Regions from separate parts of the Homo sapiens genome. Here all the other regions are linked to region 1. The links are contacts of gene promoters, found by promoter capture Hi-C in human tissues and cell types (Jung and others, 2019). All regions are on one chromosome and are shown on one strand. The core of a region is centred on a gene start or on the middle of the fragment in contact, and the rest is flanking DNA. Distances in the headings are between cores, read along the strand shown. Region 1 holds the start of CRMP1 (collapsin response mediator protein 1). Region 2 overlaps C4orf50 (chromosome 4 open reading frame 50). Region 3 overlaps C4orf50 (chromosome 4 open reading frame 50).

The links. Contacts are between HindIII fragments. The study calls those that stand out against the background at their distance.
Region 2: a fragment that was not itself captured here is called in contact with the fragment with the promoter of CRMP1 in region 1 in 3 of the 25 tissues and cell types used here (H1 embryonic stem cells, hippocampus and mesendoderm cells).
Region 3: a fragment that was not itself captured here is called in contact with the fragment with the promoter of CRMP1 in region 1 in 2 of the 25 tissues and cell types used here (H1 embryonic stem cells and IMR-90 fibroblasts).

What each region holds. Positions count from the first base shown.
Region 1 is chr4:5,890,977-5,895,342 of GRCh38, forward strand. It overlaps CRMP1 (collapsin response mediator protein 1), which reads right to left and starts at 2,110. Exons shown (of 14, transcript NM_001014809.3): 1 at 1,613-2,110. The coding sequence starts at 1,993. RefSeq lists an enhancer at 1-715. The HindIII fragment of the contact is 12,427 bases long and covers 1-4,366 here.
Region 2 is chr4:5,976,139-5,980,504 of GRCh38, forward strand. It overlaps C4orf50 (chromosome 4 open reading frame 50), which reads right to left. Exons shown (of 12, transcript NM_001364689.3): 7 at 4,036-4,200. Among named protein-coding and RNA genes, the nearest start is that of C4orf50, 40 kb to the right of the region's middle. The HindIII fragment of the contact is 5,714 bases long and covers 1-4,366 here.
Region 3 is chr4:5,957,354-5,961,719 of GRCh38, forward strand. It overlaps C4orf50 (chromosome 4 open reading frame 50), which reads right to left. Exons shown (of 12, transcript NM_001364689.3): 12 at 2,022-2,273. The coding sequence ends at 2,022. Among named protein-coding and RNA genes, the nearest start is that of MIR378D1, 36 kb to the left of the region's middle. The HindIII fragment of the contact is 6,092 bases long and covers 1-4,366 here.

The DNA of each region.
Region 1 (4,366 bases), core at 860-3,359:
CCGGATTCCCTGGTGCTGGTCCCGCTTCTCGGCCCGCGGCCCAGAAGCCTCCCCATCGGGCTCGGGAGTTTGGATCCCAAGAGAGGTCGGACCACCAGGGAAGGTAGTGGACAGGGGGAGATACAGAAGGGGTGGGGGAAGAGGAAGCTGGACTCTCGCACCATCTCCCTTTCTGATCACCCCACCACCACACACACATACACACACACACACACACACACACACACACACACACACCCTTGCTGTTGGACCTCTCCCTCGCGAGGCTCCGGCTTCAGGACCACGGAGAGCTCTGGAGCAACAGCCCGCCCGCGAAGGGATGGGGCCCGAAGAGGCCCACCACCGTGTTTACCAGTTCCCTGCTCCTATTCCTCCAGGAAGCCCTCCCAGATATCTGCCCCGATCAAGCTCTGCTTCCCTCCAGGCTCACTTTGGGTCACTCATAGCATTTAAGAGGGGAAGGTTTAATTAAAATGATAATGATTGTAATAAAAGTCAACAACAAACATTTATTGAATGCTCACTACCGACCGGCATTAACTGATTTAATTCTCACAATGAATCCGTCGCTCACCCTAGCCTGGGAACTTCTGGAGGGTGGGGCCAGGTTGCTGAGCCAGGGACCTAGCGCCTACCCTGGGCCTGGCACCTAGCAGTTCTCCGGCATCCAGGTCTGGACCAATTCGAAAGCTCCCCAGCCCTCGGATGCTCCAACTTCCGTTTTTCTGGCACCTGACCCTGGCTCTCGTCGGTCCATCCAAAGGCTACGCCGTCCATCCGCCCTTCTTCCCCCAGTTTCCTGGTGACCCCCAGCTCAAGAGAGAATACCCGCAGGGCCCAAGCCCTAGCGTTCCCTCTCCCTGATCCTCCCGGCCCCATGCTCAGGTCCGGGAGGCCAGAGACCCCAGTTCAAATCCCAGCTCTACCTCCACCTTGCTCTGTGAAGCAGGCACATCGGTGTGTGCTGTGGAGCTCAGGAGTGCCCCTTGAATCTACTGGCGCTTGAGGGTAGGGGTTTACGGCTCCAACTGCCCGACGAACTAAATCCTTAACCAAATCCTTCCCCCCAGCAAGCATGAGGGGAGCGCTCGGAAAAAAAGCTCCTTCCAGCTTTAAGCTGTGTGGCCGCAGGCGACTCGCGGAACCTCTCCCGGGGCCCGGCACACAGTAGGTGCTCTATAATTACTACCGACTGAGTGGATGGATGAATGGACCAACACGGAACGGAGCTCCAGTTCTTTTCACAAAACAGAATGAGGGGCCTGGGTTAGATTCATCCCAGAGGTTCCTTCGCGTTTAAGCGTCCATGCGGTAGCTTTAGCCAACTTCCCCTCTCAGAACCTCTCTCCCTTTCTGTAGAAGAGGAGCCGGGACTGGACCCGGGCGATCCCTTCCGAGTCTCACGGACCACGCCGGCCAGCCCCGACCGAGTCGCCCCAGCTCTGGGAACCTCTTGCATGATGAGGTGGGGGAGGGGCCGCGCCGTGGCTCTCCCCAGCCTGGCGGCCGCTGCCCCAACACCGGGGCCCGGGCATGGCCCTCGGGCGCCCCATGCCCTGGGTCCTCCCGGGGCCCGCCCCCCTCGTCTGGCCCGCGCGCGCCCCGAGGGTACCTGGCCATTGTCCCGGCCGAGGGGCAGGTCGCGGGGCGCGGGGCGGCGGATGCGCAGCGTCGGCGGCCGCTCGTCGCGCTCTCCGGGAGAGCTGACCGCGGAGCCCGAGGGCTCGCTCACGTCGCTGGCCGTGTCCTCGCTGCCTCCCGGCCCTGGCAGCCCGACCGCGTCGGGCCGGCCAGCGCTGCGCGGCGTGCGCGCCGAGCCGCGGCGGCCCACACTGTAGGCGTCGAAGTCGATGGTCTTGTTCTCGTAGGCGCCCTCCACCGCGGCGAACATGCCGCCGTACTTCTGGCGCGGGGTCTGCGCCGCGCTGCCCGGCCGCGCCAGGTACACGGGCAGGTCGTCCTCGGTGTTCCACGCGCGCCGCCGGTCCGCCATACCCGTCCAAGGCCGGCCACCCACCGCGCTCCCGCCTGCCCGCCCGCGGCCCTGGGCACCGCCGTGCGCCGCGCTCCGCGCCTCGGTGCGGGCCTGCGGCGGCCCGGGCGCGACTGCGGCCCAGGGAGGGGAGGGGCGGGGCGTGGCGCGCGCCGGGGCGGGGCCGGGGCGGGGCCTCTGGGCGGCTGCGGGCTAGCGGCGCGGCCAGCTACAAAGGACCAGGAGGCGGGGATCGCGGCTGGGGCGGGGAGGGACGGTGACGCTCCCGAGCCGCAGCGCGGAGGGCGGGCCGCGGCACCGCAGTGCCCTCGCCGCACCCCCCACTCTCCGCCCCCAGGCGGAGCGCAGGGCGCGAGGAGAGCGCGGGGCAGGAGCCGTGTGCGTACACTCGCGCGCCCACACGCTCTGGAGGCACACGCGGGTTCATACCTGCACACCAGACAATTACGCCAAACACATGAGAGATGCACAGACATGCTGGCACACACACGAGAGTCAATCACACATGCTCTCCAGAGATACACAGGGGCTCGATCATGCACACCATACTCAATGTTGCACACACATACACATATATGCTTGTGCACATTCCGAGTTCATTACAAACACACAACAGAAATCCTCATTGTCTCACAACCCCACTCACACACAGTATCACACCAAGATTAATTGCACAACTGGAGAGGCACATGCGTTGGACACACCGTTCATTCCGTCAGTTTTATTTTGCTGAGCGCCCACTAGTGCCTAGCACTGTTGTAGGAGCTGGGAACAGAGCCATGGACAAAAGAGACCAAGTGCCTGCCCTCCAGGAGCTGACCTGCTAAGGAGGGGAATTGGATACAAAAGCACCCATATGGTGGGCCAAGAGGTGGTAAGGGCCAGGAAAGGTGGTGCAGCAGCCAAGAGGGACATGCTAGAGGCACACTCCGACAGACACATAAGAGAAGCACATTCTTGCATGAGAATCAGCGACACACACATACACGTGCACGCCAATGACACCACACAACACACCAATATCAAAGGCAAGCTCAGGGCGATTCCACACATGTGCATCATAAACTGGCAACAGGATGCCCACACACAAGTCCACACCAGTAATAAAGGAAGTCAAAAGCTTAAATAAAAACGCTCCAGAGAAAGACACACAGAGACAGAGATGACCACACACACACAGCTGGCAGTCAACCAGACAGACAGATATTCCCTCATTCGAGGGGCACAGTCCACTTTTGTTGCTCCTGGAGCTTGCAGTCTGGGCGTTCTGGGGTTTCTCTGTCGTGGAGGTCGCTCTGCTGGGGCTCTCCTCTAAGGCCAGGCACCACCTGCCTCCTATAGACACCTTCCCTTATTTCTCCACGATTATCAGGCAGAGGATCCTGCAAGTCCCTGGGGACCCTACAGTCCCAGCTGCACTTCCTGGAGAGGCAGAATCGCCAGCTGCCGACCCCCTCCTCGAGCCAGTCTAGACAAGCAAAGTCAGGACTGGGTGGGGACTGCAGAGGGGAGCATCAGTGCTTCTTGCAATGTCCCCCCACCCATAGCCTTCCATGCTGGGAGCTGTCCCTTCAACCCCGGGCCCTGCCAGCTGCAAGCCAGAGCTCCCGCAGCGTGACCAAGCTCCAGGAATACCAGACAGACAGATGGATTCATGTTCTTGTTTTATGACTCTTGGGCCCCATGGACTGAGGATCCTGGGGCCGTCGGATCCGTGGCCTCAGCTGACACCTCCCTGAAGCTACTGTCTTTCAACCCTGCAACAAGGGGTCTGTGCAGCAGGTAGGTATTTTTACCGGCCCCCTCTTGGAAGAGGAAACAGGAGGGGAGATGTGAAATGGCTCCCTCAGGGCCTCAATCTCAAGGAGGTTCAGCCAGGCCTAGAGCGTGGGCTCATCCACTCGGTGGGCATTTAGCAAGTTATTTTTCTGTGCTTGAGAGAGAGGCTAGTGTGGGGACACAGATGAGTATTTCTAAGTCTCTGTCTTCAACAAGTGTTTACTCTCATGGGGGAGAGAGTGCTGAATGCGAGAACAGAAAGTTCCACACACAGCCTCCATCTACCTTCCACCCACCGCAGCTGCATCCTGGCTCCTCTCTCCTTGTGTCCCTGGGTCCACTGTGCAGATTTGCCACAGACACTCCTCTTGAGGCCCATCAGCCTCCAGGCTATCTTGCAAGTGTTTTCGATTTTTCAATGAAAATTTTTCTCTGTCCTGTGAAATACTATTCCCAGCCCATTCCAGGCAAGAACAATTCATGTCGAAAACCACATAGAAATTTCTTCTAAAACCCCACAAATGTTCAGGGTGACATAACCCAGAGAAATATCAGAAAACTCAAAAGTCTGAGTTAGGTGGAACTTTGGAGGCC
Region 2 (4,366 bases), core at 934-3,433, 85 kb after region 1:
ATTCTGAATACTCAAGAATCAGCTTGGCCGGGCGCAGTGACCCACGCCTGTAATCCCAGCACTTTGGGAGGCCGAGGTGGGCGGATCACGAGGTCAGGAGATCGAGACCATCCTGGCTAACACAGTGAAACCCCATCTCTACTAAAAAAAAAAATACAAAAAAAAAAATTAGCCAGGTGTGGTGGTGGGCACCTGTAGTCCCAGCTACTCAGGAGGCTGAGGCAGGAGAACGGCGTAAACCCAGGAGGCGGAGCTTGCAGTGAGCCGAGATTGCGCCACTGCGCTCCAGCCTGGGCGAGAGAGCGAGGCTCTGTCTCGGAAAAAAAAAAAAAAAAAAAAAAAAAGAATCAGCTCTGCCCAGCTGCAGTGGCTGGGGCCAGCTCCAAGCCCTCTTCTGAGTCTCCAGGCAGCCTGGCAGTTTTCTGGTCTTGTGGTAAACATACAAGTTCCTGAGCCAGACAGCAGGGGTCCTAATCCCGGCTCAGCCAGTCGCTGGAACTGAGATCTTGTGCAAGACACTCTCTGCCTCAGTCTTCTCATCTGTGAAGGGGGCTCATAGGAGTGCCCACCCACTGGTGAGAACTGTAGTGAGGATTCAGTGAACCTATCCATGTAAAGTGCTTAGAACAAGCCCTGGCACCTGTCAGTGATCAATAAACTAATGTTACTATTAGGCGCAGATGAAAGCTGGACACAGATTCTTTGAGACTGCTCCCCATGGAGGGGGTTCCTATCACCTTCCCTCAGATCTGGGCTGGCCTGAGATGCCTTGACTCATAGAATGCAGTGGAAGTGGCCCTGAGGCCTTTGTGGGCCTGGCACTGAATAGGACTGGCAGCTTCCACTTTGGGTCTCTTCTGTTTCTGAGCCAGGATTTAAGAATTCCAGGTGCCCTCTGGGGAGACCGTGAGACATGACAGAAAAAAGGGAAGGCACCAGCGGGAGCTGCCTTCCGCCACCCTGCAGAGGGGGCAGGATGTGAGTGAGGCCGCCGGGGACCCCCCAGCCGAGACTGGCATCCAGCCGGATGCCACTGAGTCATGCCCACTGATCCCCTGGAGGGCGGAACAGCCTAGCCGAGTCCTATCTGAATTCTGGACCCATAAGATACAACAAAACAGGTGTTGTGTGAGTTCTTCTAACTCTCTCAGTCCCTTTGCAGTCAGTTAAAAAAATCAAATAAAAAGCCGCAAGCCTCTTCCTCACCCCCAAACTCTTCGGACCAACATACCTATATGGATCAGAATGTGTGTATATGAAATTATACTGTGCAAAAGGTCTTGCATCTTGCTTCATAATTAAATAATATGCAAGATTTTAAAAGAATGAGATCACTTTGTATGTGATACAAAAATTTTGATGGTATTTTCATATTAACACATAGAAACTGACCTCATTCTTTTAAAAGCTTGCATGTTATTTAATTACAAAGTCAAAACAAAATTGATTTAACCAGTTCCTTGTTTATGGAAATTTATCTTAGTTCTGTTTCTTTGTTTTACAAAGAAGATTTCAATGCATATTTCCATATATCTGTTTTGGCACAGCATTCCTAACGTATTCAAAGAGTAAAATTCCAGCCTTAAGCAGACTGTCTTACATTCAAAAAGCACTCAATCATATTTGCAGCCTTGGATTAAACCTTCTGTCTGCTTCAGTTTAGGAAATAACATAAATATGCCACAGTGAGATAAGTATTGGGCATTTGCAATCAAAAAGTGAACAAGAAGAAATTAAAAAGATAACCTACAGAATTGGAGGAAATATTTGCAAATCATATATCTAATAAAGGACTTCTATCTAGAACATAAAAGGAACTCTCACAACTCAACAAAAAGAGAGTCAATTAACCCTATTAGAAAAATGGGAAGAATCTGAATAAACTCTTCTTCAAATACGACATACAAATGACCCACAAGCACGTGAAAAGATGTTCCACATTATTAGCCATCAGAAAATACAGCTCAAAACCAATGAGAGACAATCTCCCACTAACTAGGATGTCTATGATAGAAAAGACAGCTAGTAGCAAATGTTAGTGAGAATGAGAAGTTGGAACCTTCCTACACTGCTGGTGAGAACATAAAATGAAGTTATCAGAGACACTCTTCCTCTTTAAAGCAACTGCGATAGAGATGTTCAGGAATTACATTACAAAAATTTCATCATAAAACTGAGAACTATAAAAAAAAGAATCATAGGGAAATTCTCCACCTGCAAAATAGACTAACTGAAATTAAGAACTAAAGTGAGTTTAGGAGCAAATTAGATTCATCCAAAGAGTACTATTTAGCTGGAAGAGAGATTCAAAGGAAATATTGAAACTGAGCAGAAAGAAAAAAGAATGAAAATAATTTCAAATATACTTAAAGTCTAATTCATGTGTAACTGAAGTTTCCACACACACCCCCTCCCCACAGGCCAGTGACAGATAAGAGAAAAAAGCAATACTAGCTCTTGTGTTGGTTGAAGACACGGTGAACGAGACACACTCATTTATTGTTGGTGGCATGGAAGTGGATACCACTACTTTGGAAAGCAATTTGTGATATATAGCTAAGAATCAACAATATTGCCACCTTTGGAGCCAGTAGTCCCAGCTCTCTGAACTGTTATATATAAACAGTTATGTGTAAGTTCATAGAAATGCTCTAGATGCAACAATTGGGGAATAGTTAAGGAAACCACATCCACCCAATAGATTACTACACAAACAATCATAGATTACCACACAGTCAAATAATCATATGTATGAGGACTATGCAGCCACATGGGCAAATGAACATAAAACTCTACATATAACATGCTTTGATCTTACAAAGAACACATGGGAGAAGAGCTGGAAATTATACCGTAATGCTGAGGCTGTATTTTTCATCCATTGACTTGTCCAACAATTGTAAAGTTGCTAACATTCAGGATAACGAGTTATGGGCAAATGAGTAGACTTGTTTCTTCTTAGTGGGAGTATAAATGATGCTATCATTTTGGAGGGTTACTTGCCATTACCTATCACAGTTAATGATTTATATATCCTTTCTTTTGCTAGAAATTTGCCATTTAGATATACAGCAGAAGTATATGCCGAGAGAGAAATAAAAATGTTCATTGGAGCTGTGTTTGTAATGCAAAGAAATGGAAACAACTTGAATTTCCACAAACAGAAAAATTGATTAAATAAGTTATGATTTGGCCTCATGATGACATAATACACACGATTTTAAAGGAATGAGTTCACTTTGCATGTGTTGATATGAAAATGCCACAAGATTCTTAATTAAATGACAAAATGAAGATGCAGCATGGTTTTGTACAGTATAATTTCAAACATGTACACATACACACACATTCAGAAAGTGGGTGGTAGAGTTGAAAAAATATTGGAAGTCAGAAAATGTTAAGGTTGAGGAGAAGGAAAGCTTTTATATTTTAGATGATTAAGATTTGCAGACAGTTGTAAGAAATAATACAGAGCCCTCTTGTACATGTTTTTTAGAGACAGGGTCTTGCTCTGTCACCTGGGCTGGAGTGTACCTTGAACATTTTGCCCGGTTTCCCCCAGTGGGAATATTTTGCAAAACTATAGTGTCATGTCACAACCAGGAATTGAAATGGCCACAATTCACTGATCTTTTTCAGATCTCTCCAGTTTTAAACGTGTGTGTCTGCGTGTTAAGTCCCGTGCAATTCTGGTACCTGTATAGGTTTGCACCTGCACCACTGTATCATAGTCACGCCTACTTCCCTCTGACAGAGGAAAGGCTTTGACTTTTATTTATATGACACTGTAAGCCTGCTTGACTTTTTAAAGAAACCACATATGTGCATTTTTTAAATTTAACAGGGAAGCAATCATAGAGCCTGTGGTTTTTTGTTGTTTTTTTTTTCCTGGTACTGCCTTATACTTTAAAAATCCAGTACCTGCTCCCAACTGGCTGGGTCAAGAAGACCTCAGCAAATCTTTGTTCACTCCCAAAACGCCCCGGGGTGTGGGAGCCCTGGCTGACAAGAGGGGAAAGAAAGCACTTCCCACACCTTGGCCTGGAGCTCCTCCTGGAGGCGGGTGGCCTCGTCCAGAGACGCCTGGTGGGCAGCGCCCTGGTCCCTGAGCTGGCACTGCAGGGTCAGCACCCGGTGATGGAGCTGCTGGGCCCGCAGCCTGGGATCCTCCTCAGTAACCTCGGCCTCTGAGTCCCGGAGCTGCGGAAATCACAGATTTGAATGAAATGTTTAGGTTATCCTTCAAGCAATTTGCCTTAGCCAACAAACGGTACCCGTTTCCCCACTCCGTAGTTTTTTTTTTTGTTGTTGTTGTTTTCCTGCTTATATTTCTCTTACAGTAAGTTTTAGAAGATAAGGTAGCAGA
Region 3 (4,366 bases), core at 1,269-3,768, 67 kb after region 1:
GCACCGGGTTTCTGTCCTCTCTCTGTCATGTTCCTGATGCTCAAAGCTAATGACATTGTCCCAAAATACAGAGGGAGGCAGAAGGCGGATCACCAAACCAGTGCTGCAGGTCACTTCCTGCTTGGAAATTATAGGGAAGCCCTGGGGTGGTTGAACCAACAAAGGGATCACCGCAGTGGTTTCCAATCTGGGGATTCTTGAGGGGTGGTAACGGGGCCACAGGGTCTCCAGGGGGGTCCCTGAAAACCTAGGTGGACAGCATCATCTTCACTTCTTCCCCAGCAGCATCCAGCCAGACACTCGCACAGCAGTCACTAAATGCATATTGAATAAATAAATAAATAGACAGATCTGTGGGTAAATCAATCCAGGAATACATGGATGAATGTGCTAACCCATCAGAAAACCCCATAAACGAATTTAAAGGGTGGAACTCAATGTGCTGAGGCTGCCTTTCTTACGTCTCAATGGCTCCCCAATTTTCCTCGAAATAAAACCCACTAGTTTCTATAATTGTACAACATAAGTCACATGAGATGTTAACATCAAGGGAAGCCCGGGGAAGAGTCTACGGGAACTCTGTGTAATTTTCATTTCAAACAAAAAGCTAAACTACGTTAAAATAAATCTATACACTTTGACACTTCCTGGGGAGCCGTCAGTTCCTTGTCCTTGTCCTTGTTTGTCCTTCCATGAAGGGACAGTCACTTCCAGGAGAGGACAGAATTGGACAGGTAGCGGCTTTGGCCTTTCCCTTAAGCCCCTCCTCAGCCCCTTCCCAAAGAGAGAGGTGACATCTCTGGTGGGTGAGCCTGGGTCAGGGTCTGGTGTGTGTCGTCCAAGCCCCCTAGACTCTCTTTTTGGGGGGCTGCCCTCAGGATAGAAGTGCTCTTCTCCTGGGTCGCCCACCTGATTCGGGGCACGAGTCTCTGTTCTCGGTGGAAGGAAGGGGTGCTGGATGGGAACGATGCAGTGACTGCTTGCAGCTGGCTTGACAAGAGCATGCTTTGCCCACTTCCCCTCCAGGGGCACATCCACAGTTCAGTTTTATGCCTCAGGGCCTTTGCACATGCGTTCCCTCGTACAGCAGCACCCTTCCCACCTCACCCACCGGACACTGCCCAGCCATTCCTTTGTGGCTGACTTCCAGTTGTCCCAAGCCAAGTAGAACGGACCCTTACCTTCATCCCGTTGCTCAGGGCACATGTGACACTTGCGTGCGTGCTGATTTACTCACAGGAGTATCTCTCCCATTGTCCTGTGAGGTCCCCGGCGCCAGGATCAACATTGACTTGTCTCTTCTCCTTCATGCCACATTGCCTGGCATCCAGTGGATATCAACAGACGTTTTTGGAGTGGATGGACTGATTAGAAAGTTCTGGTTAGTTTTAATGTTTTTAAATGTAAAATATATGGTGACTTAGGCGTTTCACTTAGTAGACAAAAAATCTTTTAAAACATGGGAAGGACCCCGGGGGCAGAGAAAAAACAAAACAAAACAATTCTCCATGGCTGATCTTGTTGGGAGCTATGAGATCCGTCCTGGACTCTCGACCTCAGCACTGGCGACCCTCGGGCTGTAATTCTTTGCTGTAGGAGGCTGGCCTGGGTATTGTAGGACATTTCATAGCATCCCTGGCCTCTACCCACCAGATGCCAGTAGCAGTGTCCCAGCTGTGACAACCAAAAATGTCTCCAGACATGGCCAGATTTTCCCTGGGGGGCTAAAACTGTGCCCAGTTGAGAACCTCTGGACCAATCATTCAATAGGTTTTGGTACAGTAAATATTTCCTATGCTGCCTTGACATTGCCAAAGCCAAACTCCTCAGAATTTGCCAGGCACAGGCCAGCGTTTCTCTCAAGCTCTGACAATGAACACAAAATCCCAAAGCCGAAGGCAAAACCACTTGCCACTAAATGAGGGCTCTGATTGCTACCAATTTCTTAAAGCACTCTCTGAAGGTTCTGCTTCAAATATTTATGGAGTCTATGAAATGGCTCCGGAGAATGAGTGGCCCTATTACATTTCTAACTCCAGCGGTGATTTATGGACCTGGGAATTGCTGCAAATGCTTTGTCTAAGCTCTTGGTGAAAAGCCAGGATCCTTGCTGGGCTCAGGAGCTCAGAGGGTGCTGGGACGTTATCGACTTGGAGGGCAGGACAGGGCATTCCGCCTTTTTCTTGCAGACGTTGTGCGGGGAGACCTGGTTCCACAGTGACCGCTGCCAGGCACGTTCCAGGATCAAGCGTGGACACCAAGGACAGAGGGAGCTGCAGGCAAGAGGACAATGAAATGGTCTCTGCGTCCACATGTTTGTAAAAGCCCCTCCATTCACACATTTAATCAAAGGAAGAGATGACAGTGATAGCTAACGGTTTCGGGGCACTTTCTGTGCCTGGCACCAAATACTCCTCACACATTGGCTCACTTCCTTTGGTGACAGTTCAGTGAGACACATGCTGTCATCACTGCGTTCTGGGTCAGAAAATGAGATTGGGGCAGCGTGAGGCTCCCTCTCCACGTCATGTGGCAGGTGCCTGACAATACAGTCATGAGCGGGCGTTCCTGTAGAGTGGATATCCTCTATAAATTTTCTCCTTCCCGGTGATAAGAGAAAGTGACCTTCCCTTGAAAGGGGAAGTCATGTCTTGCTGGTTGCAAACCTCATGCCCAGCACATCTCAGGGCTTTCCCCAAATGTGCCATCTTACTTGCCTTCACTTAGTTCCTGCAACAAGCTATCATCAGGCCCACTTTATAGATGAAAACCCACTTAACAGTTTAAGAGATTCTAAATGCCTTCATTAAATGTATTAGCTCTGAAGTGGCTTCGACTTCAAAGCCAAGCCCATCTGATTTCAAACCTCCACTCTTTCTACGTCTCCTTTCCAGTCACTATTGTACCTGTGATCCCTTCACGACCAACATCTCACACCTCTCAGGCACCTTCCCGCAAATGACAGGCAGGACTGCCTCACCAGGTAACATGTGAGTCCTGCTAATGCCTCTTCTCCCTCCTCTAAAGGGTGTGGCAGGTGTGTCAGTGCCTTGCCAGACAGATGAGCAGAATGGAGCCGACTTCTCCACCAGTTCCAGGAGGCAAGAGCAGCCGCAGGTTTGCAATGAGCAGGGCCTTTTGCCTCACTGGTGGAAGACGGCTGAAAAAGAGGCTGGACAGCAGAGGCAGGGAATCGGCGATCACTATGTGCCAAGCCTGACCTTGTCCCTGCCCTCAGAGCACTTCCAATCCAGTGGGAGAGGCAGACACATAAACTCAATATTATGCTGCAGGGTTCAAGCCCGAAGAGAGACCCACACAGGTGCTGATGAAGCCTCCAGGACGGAAGTACTGACTGCACACTGAGGAGCTGGGAAGGCCTCATGGAGGCAGTGTCTGAGCTCGGCTTTTGGGGAGGAGCAGGGTTCTGTTATGTGTTTAAAACGCAAGGTCATTCTGGGCTGACTAATGTGCGCATCAGGAGTCTGGACTCCATCTTATAATAATAATAATGATAGTCGGCCTGGCTCATGCCTGTAATCCCAGCACTTTGGGAGGCTGAGGTGGGTGGCTCACCTGAGGTCAGGAGTTCGAGACCAGCCTGGCCAACATGGTAAAACCCTGTTTATACTAAAGCCGCTACCTGTCCAATTCTGTCCCCTCCTGGAAGTGGCTGTCTCTTCATGGAAGGACAAACAAGGACAAGGACAAGGAACTGAGGGCTCCCCAGGAAGTGTCACAATGCATAGATTTATTTTAACGTAGTTTAGCTTTTTGTTTTGAAATGAATGTCTCTACTAAAAATACAAAAATTAGCTAGGTGTGGTGGTGCACACCTGTAATCTCAGCTACTCAAAAGGCTGAGGCGGGAGAATCGCTCAAACCTGGGAGGCAGAGGTTGCAGTGAGCCGAGATCGTGCCTCTGCACGCCAGCCTGGGCAACAGAGGGAGACTCCATCTCAAAAACAACAACTATAATAATAATGATAAGGATAGTTTAAGCCATATGAAATTACTGTTTCTGAGGGAAAGAGTAGTATAATATTGGCAGTTTCCTAGGATTCAGTCTACAACAGTGAACATTTACTGAGCTCTTGCAATATGTCGTTCCAAGCACTTTCCACATATTGATTCATTGCATCTTTACAAAATCCAAGGAGATAAGTGCTATTATTATCATCCCATCATACAGATGAAGCAACAGAAGCCCAGAGAGGTGAAGTGCTGTGCCCAAGGCCACACAGCTAATAGGAGCCTGCTGCAAGATTTGAACCCAGGCCATACGGCTCTCAAGCCTGCCTGATTCCCCACCACAGTGACAGCTGAACCCAGGGATGTAGTGTTGGATCTTCAGTGGCCGAGTGAT